Linked DNA regions of Homo sapiens: region 2 is linked to region 1. The links are contacts of gene promoters, found by promoter capture Hi-C in blood cells and fetal thymus (Javierre and others, 2016). All regions are on one chromosome and are shown on one strand. The core of a region is centred on a gene start or on the middle of the fragment in contact, and the rest is flanking DNA. Distances in the headings are between cores, read along the strand shown.

Region 1 (5,529 bases), core at 863-3,362:
GGACTCAGACCCCTATCCACCCCCAGTCCCCAGGGCCCCCTGCCAGCCCCTGTCCTACAGGGGCAAGACGGCAGGACCAGGCATGGGGGAGCTGGAGGCAGGGACTAGAACAGAGGGAGCCACCTGGAGAGACGGAGGCTGTCAGTGCCTGCCTCGATACCTCTCTCTGCAGAGAGCTTCTGGGTGGGGGCTTATCTCCTCCCCCAGGAGGGTGGATCTCTGTCCCTCTATCCCCAGGGACTCTCTCCCCTCTTGTATAGAATAAAAAAACAAAATCATCGCCTGCCTCGAGTCTCTGCTATCTTCCCCATTCACTGCCTCCACAATCTGCTCTCTTCCCACAAACCCTCAGAGCTTGGCCACAGTGGAGAAAAATGAGAAACATTCCACAGGGATAGACTTGGGGTTCTGAGAGGAGCAGGAGAAAAAAACAGAGAACTGCCGAGGGAAGGGGACTGATAAGTCCCCAAGCCAAGATGGGTGTTATGCCCAGGGTCAGGGCTGAGCTTCCTGGAGAAAGAACCAAAAGGACAGAAACCAACACAAAGTCTGTCCAGCTTTTGGGGGTGTAATGGGATTGGAAGCCCCAGTGTACCAGAGGGACACGGGAGCAGTGTGTGTGTGTGTGTGTGTGTGCATGCATGCACACTAATGGGGGAATTACATGATGTTGTGTCGTCCTGGGGGCACCCTCACTAGTCAGAAGTCTCAATAGCAGAGTGGCTTGCAGGTGAACAGAAGTCTCTGTGGCATGAGGTCAGCAACTAAAGTAGCTGTCTCCCATGGTGTTCTAGCAAATACTATCTTGGCATTCAAGATCCCACTCAAAAGCCCCTTCCTCTGTGAAGTCCTTCCTGATGCCTTCCCCACTCATCCATATTGCACCCTGCTTTAATGTGCTCCCACTGCATCCTGAGCAGGTCCATAACATTGCACCTGTCACGCTTCATTGCGTATGCGTATTGGCTTATCCTCTCTCTGTCTGCCTGTCTTTCTGTTCCATATACATCTGCCTCCCCCAGGGGCAGAGGCTGTGTCTTAATCACCTGTGTAGCCCCAGCACCTGGCACAGTGCCTGACACCCAGGAGATGCTCAATAAATGGCTGCTATATTAATACATGAGCAGCTTAAGGGGATGGAGGGCGAAGGTAAATGCTCTTGCGTACTCATCGCAGACCACAATGTGCCCAAATGTCTTCATGTGTGGTTTGCAGCTCCCCAGGCAACTGCTTACTTCCCTTACTTACTGATTTCACCAGGAATTACTTGTTTTGTTTCCTTAAGATCTGTGCATGGCACAGCCCCTCCCACAAGGGTAAGGCCATATGGGTTGAATCTTGGGGGGTGTTGGGTACATTGTGGCACCGGGAAGAAGCCTTGGGAGTCAGTCCTTCAGCAGATGCCCTCATGTGACCAGGATATGAGGTTGGGTGTCCTTAAGCAATTATGTCCATTTCCTGTGTCTCCTTATAAAATGGTGGCTAGGGAACTGGACATCATTCTCAAAGCTATGACGTTCAGCAAGGTATGTGATGGCTTTTAAGGAGCACGGGAAGATCACATCCTGCTGTATTCCGGGTTAGTTTGAGTGAGTACATGTGTGACAAGGACAGCCCAGTGTTCCTGTATATGTGACTGCAGATATCCTTAGCTAGTGTAACAATGTTGAAAGTGATGTGAGAAGGGGTATGTTTCCCAATGTGTATCCGCCGGGGGCTGTAACTGTCGTGGTGTCACAGTGAGTTTATGTACTGGCGCCTGTGTGTGTCAAGATATGTGTGAGCCTGTGAGTCGTGGGTGCATGTGTCGCCATCATTTCTCTGTTTGAATGTGTATGTGCATGCCACTGCAATGTGCGCATCTCTGCGATTCTGGGTGTGGGTGTAGTGTGAAGGGGAAGATGTGTGTCACTGTGTCTGTGGGGGTCCTGCCTCTAAGCCACCCCCAGCCTGCCCTCCTCCCCCGGTTCTGTGGCTCCCTCCCAGGCTGTGGCCCTGCCCCTTCCCTCTTCTCCCTCCCAATCCATCCACGCGGGGGGAGCTGGTGCTGCGCCCCCCCCCACCCCTCCCCATCCAGGCCCCATAAATAGCAGCAGAGCCGGAGCTGGAGCCGGCGCCAGCGGCTGGAGCAGCAAGGGAGTCAGGGCCAGGGCCAGAGAGCCGGAGAGAGGAGCCCCCGACCGAGAGCCCAGGTGAGCCCACCCTTCCTCCCCAGCCCAGCCCCAGCCCAGCCCAGCTTGGCCCAGTCTCCATAACAACATCTCCTGGAGCCCGCAGAGAGATCCCAGCCCTGCCCAATCCCTTCACCACCACAAGCCCCTGCCTATCTCGGGGACCCCCAAGAACTGGGAGACTTGTGGCTGGAAGGCAGAGACCCCCCTCCCCCAGCCCAGACCCTCCCTCACATATCCAGAAAGGCACACACTGTGGGGAGGTAGATACCCAGCCAGAGAAAGGTCCCACTTCTGAGGGAGGTACAGGAACTGTCACACCCTCCTGGAAACGGACACACGACATGGGGGGACAGACACGGAGGGTGGGGCACTCAGACACACCAATGCACACTCACTCGGGGAAGCATGACATGGGATCAGACAGCCTCACCCTGAGATCTGTACAGACACAGATAGATGGACTGACCGGCCATGAACTCTGGCCGGCATACCCCTGCCTGCTTCAGCCCGAGGCTTGGTACCACTGCTGGGGGAAGGTGGCATGCGTGCATCCCACGGGCAGCATGGAGGGAGCCACGACTCCCCAAAAATCCTGTCGCTAAGAGACGGTGCCAGTGCTGCCAAGAAGTGTGAAAACAGGGGAGGTGGGGAGGGATGTGAGGCTTGTCACAGTTAGAGCTCCTGCCAGGAGCCTGAAGGAGCTTTCAGCAGAGCCCTGGTCCTGCCTCCCAGCCCACCACCACTCCTTTTCCATCAGCTAGCCAGAAGGGGAATGGGGGTAGGGAGTGGATAGGGATAGCCCAGCAGGGGACTTTCCAACCTGTCTCCTGCCCACTGCAGACTCCACTTCTGAGACCCATCCTCTTCAGAACTCCAGAGGCCTCTCCACCCCCTGCCCCACCCCCTTGCCCTAGTTTAGCTCCCTCGTGCCAAGACTGAGTGCAGCGCTGGCACAACACCAGTCGGGAAATAGCAGAAGGTGCTGAGGCGGCAGAAAGTGTAGATCAATCGATGGCCTAGGAGCCAAGACTGCCAGGAACATCCCCACCCCAATCCTTCAGCCCTCTCCAGCCCCATCCACGCATACCTAGGCCAGCAGCACAGGGCTTCTGAGCAGGAGTGGGAGGCTCAGGTCCTCTGCCCTCCCCTGCTCAGAACTCTGGTGAAGCTGAGGAAGCAGGAGGTCCGTGAGGCCCCAGGGTCTAGGGAAGGAGGTTAAGGGGTGGGGCCCAGGGACCCTAGAGGATAGACCCCTCTGCTGGCAGGTGTTCCCTTTCCAGAGTCCAGGCCACCTGCTCTGTCCCCACAGTGACATGTCGGACCCTGAGATGGGATGGGTGCCTGAGCCCCCAACCATGACGCTGGGGGCCTCTCGGGTGGAGCTGCGGGTGTCCTGCCATGGCCTCCTGGACCGGGACACACTCACCAAACCCCACCCCTGCGTGCTGCTCAAGCTCTACTCTGATGAGCAGTGGGTGGAGGTGAGAGCAGCTCAGGTTTCTCCTTAACTAACCTGGGTTAAGCTTGGGAAAGAGGGAGGCTGGGTGGGAGCAGTGAAAGCCTTGCAGGGAAATGTGTGGACTCTGCGGCGCCTTCTCGAGGCCGCTTGGGTACCCTGGAGATGGTGTCCCAGAGGGTCCTGAGATTGACCCAGAGGCAGTGGGGTTGCTCCCAAAGGCCTCATGATAGCCCGGAGGACTGAGAGTCCAGTGGGCAGGCAGCACCCCAAGCTCAGGGATCAGCTTAGGAAGAGAAGAGCTGGTTGCTGGGGACGTGGGGGCCCAAGAAGAGCTGGCATGACTAGGGCAGTCCAGGACAGGGAAAAGTATCCTCGGTTCCCAGACAGCCCTCGCCTCCCTTCAACCACTACCACAGGTAGAGCGCACAGAGGTGCTTCGCTCCTGTTCCAGCCCTGTCTTCTCCCGGGTGCTGGCCCTTGAGTATTTTTTTGAGGAGAAGCAGCCCCTGCAGTTCCACGTGTTCGATGCCGAGGACGGAGCCACCAGCCCCCGAAATGATACCTTCCTCGGCTCTACGGAGTGCACCTTGGGCCAGGTCTGCATTCCCGGCCTCCCCGGCTACCCTACCCTACCTCCATCAGCTTTGCCTCTGGAAGCCAAAAAGAGAGAAAACATGAGCTCTAGAGCTAGTTCAACCCAGCCTTGGCTCCCATCTCTGCCATTCACTAGCTGTGCAGCCTCAGGAAAGATACTTAACCTCTCTGAGTCTTAGTTTTCCTATCTAAAAAATGGAGGAGTGGTCAGAGTGCTTCCCTCTTCAGACTATTGTAAAAATTGAGCCCAACCCTAGCCCAACTCAAAGTGCCAACCCTTGCAGACACTCAGAGCATTTATTATTCCATCCCTTGTACGTGGCCAAGGCAGATGGGGATGTCACAGCTGGGTCTCCCTCCACCTCCATCCCCAGATTGTGTCACAAACCAAGGTCACTAAGCCATTATTGCTGAAGAATGGGAAGACTGCGGGCAAGTCCACCATCACGGTAGGCAAGATCACCTGTACTCACCCTTGGTCCAGGTATTCAATGCCCCTGCATGGACACCTATGGTGACATCATGCCCAGGACCACCCCCACCTAAGGGAAAGGGGATGGGGTGGCCCTTGTGGTAAGGTTAGGGGAGTCCTGCCACTTGTATCCCCCTTGCAGATCGTGGCCGAGGAGGTATCAGGCACAAACGACTATGTGCAACTCACCTTCAGAGCCTACAAGCTGGACAACAAGGTTGGAACCCCAGAGTCCAGGCCCCCAACTCCCCTGTCACTCCTAGGCCTCCCACTCAAGACAGATCCCAGGAGCCCAGGCCTGCTCTCTTCCCAGTGGGAGCCCATCCCCCACCCTCCTTGCAGCTCTCACCAACCTCAAGGGCCCTTTCTCCTGTATCTTCAGGATCTGTTCAGCAAGTCTGACCCTTTCATGGAAATCTATAAGACCAACGAGGACCAAAGTGATCAGCTGGTCTGGAGAACTGAGGTTGGTGCCTGGGGCTATGGGGATGAAGGGAGGGAGAGTAAAGTAAGAAGACACAGACAGGAGCTGACCAGCCACCTGGTGCCTCTCCAAGGTGGTGAAGAACAACCTGAACCCCAGCTGGGAGCCGTTCCGCCTGTCCCTGCATTCCCTATGCAGCTGTGATGTTCACCGACCTCTCAAGGTGAAGTCCCAGCCAAGCCAGCACAGCCTACTTAGAGCAACCAATCTGCTATCTAAGACCTTTCCCCTGCATGTGGCAAGCCTCCCTCCTCTCCCCCAAGTGATAATCACATCCCACTGTGGGATAAATAATAGGTCACAGCTCAATGTTAAACTTCCCACATGTGTGCATTTTATCAGTGGC
Region 2 (5,529 bases), core at 1,740-4,239, 460 kb before region 1:
CTCACAAACTCTCACAAGAGGAGGCTGTGTCTTGTCTGCCTCCAGCTCCCGGGCCCCTGCCACCCCCTGAGGATGACTTCTGGAAGTTCCTCAGCTCATCACCCTCTTCGCAGGCATCCTCTTCACCTCTCAGCAGTGGCAACTGCTGCTCCCCAGGACCTTCTTCCTGAGCTTCTTTTCCCTTCAGTGTGGGGACACTCCTAATTTGCCTCTTCAGTCTTTGACTTCTCCCTTTTGGCTTCCTTTTCTTCTTCCCCTCCCTAAAATGGAAGGATTTCTGTGTCAGTCAGAGTCCAAGCAGGAAAACGATTCCATGCAAGGCATTTCTTACAGAAGGGATGTATTCAGGGAATTGACTACTCCAGTGTTGGAGGGTTGGAAGGGCAAATGGAGATGCTGCAGTGACCAGATATGGTAACTACAGGAGTTCCTTCTCAGGGCTGGAGGGACAGAAGAGAAGAAGTGGGGCCACCAGAGCCTCCAGGCTCAGCCTTGCCTGGCCCATGTTCAGACCACAGAATGAGGATGCATTGTGATGGGGTTGAGCCTCTGGGGCGCTGGTATCTCCAGGAGGTGCAGTTCACCTGCTGCCAGGAGTGTCTGAAGAATTGGGAGCTAGCACGGGCAACCTATTGCCCATAGGCCAAATCCAGCTGCCACCTGTTTCTCCATGGCCCACGAGCTAAGAATGTTCTTCACATTTTGGCCAGGCACGGGGCTCACGCCTGTAATCCCAGCACTTTGGGAGGCCGAGGCGGGTGGATGGTCTGAGGTCAGGAATTCGAGACCGGTCTGGCCAATGTGGCAAAATCCTGTTTCTACTAAAAATACAAAAAAAAAAAAAAATTAGCCAGTCATGGTGGTGCACACTTGTAGTCCCAGCTACTTGGGAAGCTGAGGCAGGAGAGTTGCTTGAACCCGGGAGGCAGAGGTTGCAGTGAGACGAGATTGCGCCACTCCACTCCAGACTGGGTGACAGAGCAAGAGTTCATCTCAAAAAACAAGCAAACAAAAAAAGAATATTCTTCATATTTTAAAAATGGCTGAAAATAAAACCGAAAAGGAAGATATATCTCATGGCACATGAAAATTATAAAACACTCAAACTCCAGTGTCCATGAATAAAGTTTTATTGCAATGTGGTCATCCTTATTCATTTATATATTGTTTATGTCTGCTCTTGCAGTACAATGGCAGAGTTGAGGAGTTATAACAGAGACCATATGGCCTGCAAAGCTTAAACTACTTCATGTCCAGCTCTTTACAGAAAAAGTTTGCTAAGCCCTAGGCTAGAGTCCTCCTGGAGGGACATTGACAGGAGCTGGAAACAGGAGGAAAACCCTTCTCTCACCCTATGTCCTTCAGCCACGTCTCAGTGCCTCTTAGTAGCAGAATTGAATAGGAAGCCAGCTGGCAAGAGAGAGTCTGGGAAAGGCTGTTGGCAGTCCCTTGGCCCTCACACCACAGGGGAGGGTGGCATGGGCCCAAGAGGCAACAGGCAAACAGCACAACTTACAAGTATCTTATACTGGCCTTTTCCTCTTCTGTCTCTGCCCTCCCTCCCTTAGTAATCCTATCCACAGTCATGGCTTCTATCACATCTCTGTAGACAATGCACACATCCATGGCTCCATGCTTGAATTCTGTTATCAGTCTTGCATTTCTAACTGCCTTCTTGACAACTCCATTTAGAAGGCTTCCCTTCATCTCAAAGTCACCATGTCAATAGGTAGAATTCATATTTTCTATCAAGCTTGTTTCTTCTCCTCTGTTACCTATTTTTGTTGGCAATGCCACCATTGTCCCTGGCTTCATGTTTGGATCCTCTCTGTCTCTTTTCTCTCGTGTCAAAGCATTTAGAAAGACCAGATCTTTCTCTGTAAGACTTCGCAACTATTCTCTACTTTCCCTTCCCAGCACCATCACCTGGGGTTGTGCCACCATTACCTCTTGCCTGGATTATAGATATGACCTCATAATGGGTATTACCCTACACAAGTTTCATTCCAATTCCTCTCACACATAGTTGCCAGATTAATCTTCTGAATCATCAGATTCAAAGTCCTTTTGGTTTCCCTTTGTTTATGCATTGGCCAGAAATTCAAAATTTTATACAGTTCTGTATTAGTTCATTTTCACGCTGCTGATAAAACATACCCAAGACTGGGTGATTTATAAAGAAAAAGAGGTTTAATGGACTCACAGTTCCATATGGCTGGGGAGGCCTCACAGTCATGGCAGAAGACCAAGGAAGAGCAAAGGGACTTCTTACATGGTGGCAGGCAAGATAGAGAGCCATGCAAAAGGGGAAGCCCCTTATAAAAACATCAGATCTCGTGAGACTTATTCACTATCATGAGAACAGTATGGGGACATAGCCAAACCATGTCATTCTACTCCTGCGGTTTTGCAAGGTACAAAGTCCCTCCCGGCTGCTTTTATGGGCTGGTGTTGAGTGTCTGCGGCTTTTCCAGGTGCATGGTGCAAGCTGTTGGTGGATCTACCATTCTAGGGTCTGGAGGATGGTGCTCCACTAGGCAGTGCCCCAGTGGGGACTTTGTGTGGGGGCTTCAACCCTACATTTCCAGGCCCCGACTGCTGTGTATGGAAATGCCTGGATGTCCAGGCAGAAGTTTGCTGCAGGGGCAGGGCCCTCATGGAGAGCCTCTGCTAGGGCAGTGCAGAAGCGAGATGTGGGGAGGTACAATTCAAGATGAGTTTTGGGTGGGGACGCAGCCAAACCATATCAAGTCCCAGTGACTACAGTTTGGTTTTCCAAATTTGTTTCCTATTTCTTTCTTTCCTGTCCTCTTCCTTTCCAATACTTTCATATAGCCTCTTGTTCCTTCAGGTTCTGTGCACTTTATTTATACTCTCCCCTCTGCCAGAAATGTTTTTGGTACTTTTTAGGATTAGGTTAAGTTATGAGTGAGAGAAAACCCAGTGTAAGGGGCCCATTGAGGTTGCACCAGAGCCCCTGTGACCCGTTTAATCATCTCCCACAGCTTCTGCACATCGAGAGAAGCAGGGGCAGCCTTTAGCTGAACTAGGTAACAGCCTAGTTCCATTGTCTGAAATCTGGGCAAACTGTGAGGTGTAGTTTACACTCCAGAACTGACCTTTGGGACCAGGCTAAGGCTGGGGCTTTGCTGAAACATTCCCTTGCTTGTCCTCCTCCCTTCCCTGTCTTACTTTCCACACTCCCTTACTGGTTTCTCCTGGGAGCATTTTTTTAATTTTTATTTTTGAGACAAGGTCTCACTTTGCCACTAAGGCTGGAGTGCAGTGGCATAATCATAGCTCACTGTAACCTCAAACTACTATGCTCAAAGGAACTTCCTGCCTCAGCTTCCTGAGTAGCTGGGACTACAGGCACACATGACCTGATCAGCTAATTTTTAAATTTTTTGTAGAGACAGGGGTCTCACTATGTTACTCAGGCTGGTCTGAAACTTCTGGCCTCAAGCAATCCTCCTGTCTTGGTCTCCCAAAGTTCTGGGATTATAGATAGGAGCCATTGCTCCCTGCTGGGAGCATCTGTTTAATAAACTACTTGCACATAAAGCCTTGTCTTAGGATCTGCTGTGGTAACCCAACCTAAGACACTTGTAACAGTGGCTTAAACAAGACTGTAGCGGGCCTCATATCGTGCCTTCGTGATCAGACTGCCTCAACATTGTAGTCCACATCCTCAACATGTGCCTTCTGAGGCCAAAGATAGCTGCTTTGTCTCCAGTCATCAGAGTCATGTTCTAGACAGCAGGAGGGAGACAAAGAAAGGAGGTGGGCATGCTCCTTCCACTTGAGAACACCTCATGGAAGTTTCATCCCTGACTTCTCTATAACCTTTTATGCAGAACATGGTCAGGTAGCCGTGCCTGGCTGCAAGGGCAGCTGGGAAATATAGCCTTTATTCTCAGTGGTCAATTGCACAGCTAACATTTTGGAATATGATTACTGTGGAAGAAGAGGAAACAGACATTAGGAGACAACTTGTAGTTTCAGTTACATGCTCCTTCTCATCTCTGCCTGTCCAGAGTCTTCCAAACCCAGTGCAAATGCCACTTTCACCTCAAATCCTTCCTTGAGCTACTAGTTAAAAGTTATCACTCCCTCATGGCACTTTGTGTGCCCTTTCCTTGTGACACCGCAGTTTTTCTACCTGGCTTGTAGTTACTTAAATATGCCTTCCCCACAGGACTGTAGACATCTTTAGAGTAGAGGGCAAGCTTCAGTGAATTTCTGAGTTGAAAATTGAAATACTACAATCCCATACTCTGGAGAGTGTGGTTTTGGAGCCCGACCAATCTGGTTCAAAGGCAAGCTTTATCTTTAAACCAGTTATACAACATTCATTTGCTTATTCTACAAATATTTATTGGTGCTTCCCCTCTGTCGGGCACTATTACAGGTGCTGGAAACTTGGTGGAGAACAATACAAATAAGCACCCCACTCCCATGAAGGTCATAAAGGATGAGGGTTAAGAGCACAGATTCGGCCAGGCACGGTGGCTCATGCCTGTAATCCCAGCACTTTGGGAGGCCAAGGTGGGCAGATCACCTGAGATCAGGAATTCGAGACCAGCCTGGCCAATGTGGTGAAACCCTGTCTCTACTAAAAGTACAAAAATTAGCTGGGCGTGGTAGCACACGCCTGTAATCCCAGCTATTCAGTAGGCTGAGGCAGGAGAATTGCTTGAACCCGGCAGGTGGAGGTTGCAGTGAGCCGAGATCACGCCACTGCACTCCAGCTTGGGCGATAAGAGCGAGACTCCGTCTCAAAAAAAAAAAAAAAAAAAAAAGAGCACAGACTCCATAGCCAGACTGCCTGGGCTTGCATCCCAGCTTCACGACTTACAAGCTGTGTGACCATAGATAAGTTACCTTGCCTCTCTGTTGCTCAGTTTTATCTTCTGAAACACAGAGATGTTCAGAGTGCAACTTTTCAGGATAGTGGTGGAGACTAAGTGAGTTTACACATATAAAGTACTTAGAACAGTGCCTGGCACAAAATAAGGACTACGTAAGTGTTAGTTATTAGTATAAGCTTGCAGAGCTTACATTCCAGTAGGTGAGGAAATAACCTAAACAAACAAACAAAAAATATTAGGCAGGTGATAAGTGCCATGAAGAAAATAAAAGAGAAAAGTGGGAGAGAGCGCTGCTGAGGATCTGTCTCATACCAGGTGAACAGGGAATGTCTCTATGAGGGTTGACATTTAACAGCAATGAAGTGTTTGTGGGAAGAGCTTTCAAGGGCCAGCAGATACAGGGACTGTGAAGGCAGGCCTGACCTGGCCGGCTGGAGGCTGAAGCACGCAGGTGGAGGGGAAAGTGCAGTAGGATGGTCTGGGAAGAGCTTGGGGCCAGACACCGTGGGGGCTCTGTAAGTTGGGGAAATAATTTGGATTTGATTCTTAGTACAATGGCAAGCCATTGCAGAGTTTTAAGCAGTGGAGACTGATGTTTAAAATGCTAATGCTGTCTGCAGGTGGAAAGAGAATAGCTTGTGAGAGTGTATGAGTGGAA

Evidence for each region. Contacts are between HindIII fragments. The CHiCAGO score rates a contact against its expected background, and 5 or more counts as called.
Region 2: a fragment that was not itself captured here is called in contact with the fragment with the promoter of CPNE6 in region 1 in 2 of 17 cell types (naive CD4 T cells and total CD4 T cells); the score reaches 7.5 in naive CD4 T cells.

Annotation. Positions count from the first base shown.
Region 1 is chr14:24,069,450-24,074,978 of GRCh38, forward strand. It overlaps CPNE6 (copine 6), which reads left to right and starts at 2,113. Exons shown (of 17, transcript NM_006032.4): 1 at 2,113-2,192; 2 at 3,484-3,655; 3 at 4,050-4,229; 4 at 4,602-4,676; 5 at 4,842-4,916; 6 at 5,082-5,165; 7 at 5,257-5,346. The coding sequence starts at 3,488. CARMIL3 (capping protein regulator and myosin 1 linker 3) reads left to right here. Exons shown (of 40, transcript NM_138360.4): 40 at 1-280. The HindIII fragment of the contact is 6,300 bases long and covers 1-3,695 here.
Region 2 is chr14:23,607,224-23,612,752 of GRCh38, forward strand. No RefSeq gene overlaps it. Among named protein-coding and RNA genes, the nearest start is that of DHRS2, 26 kb to the right of the region's middle. The HindIII fragment of the contact is 2,476 bases long and covers 1,752-4,227 here.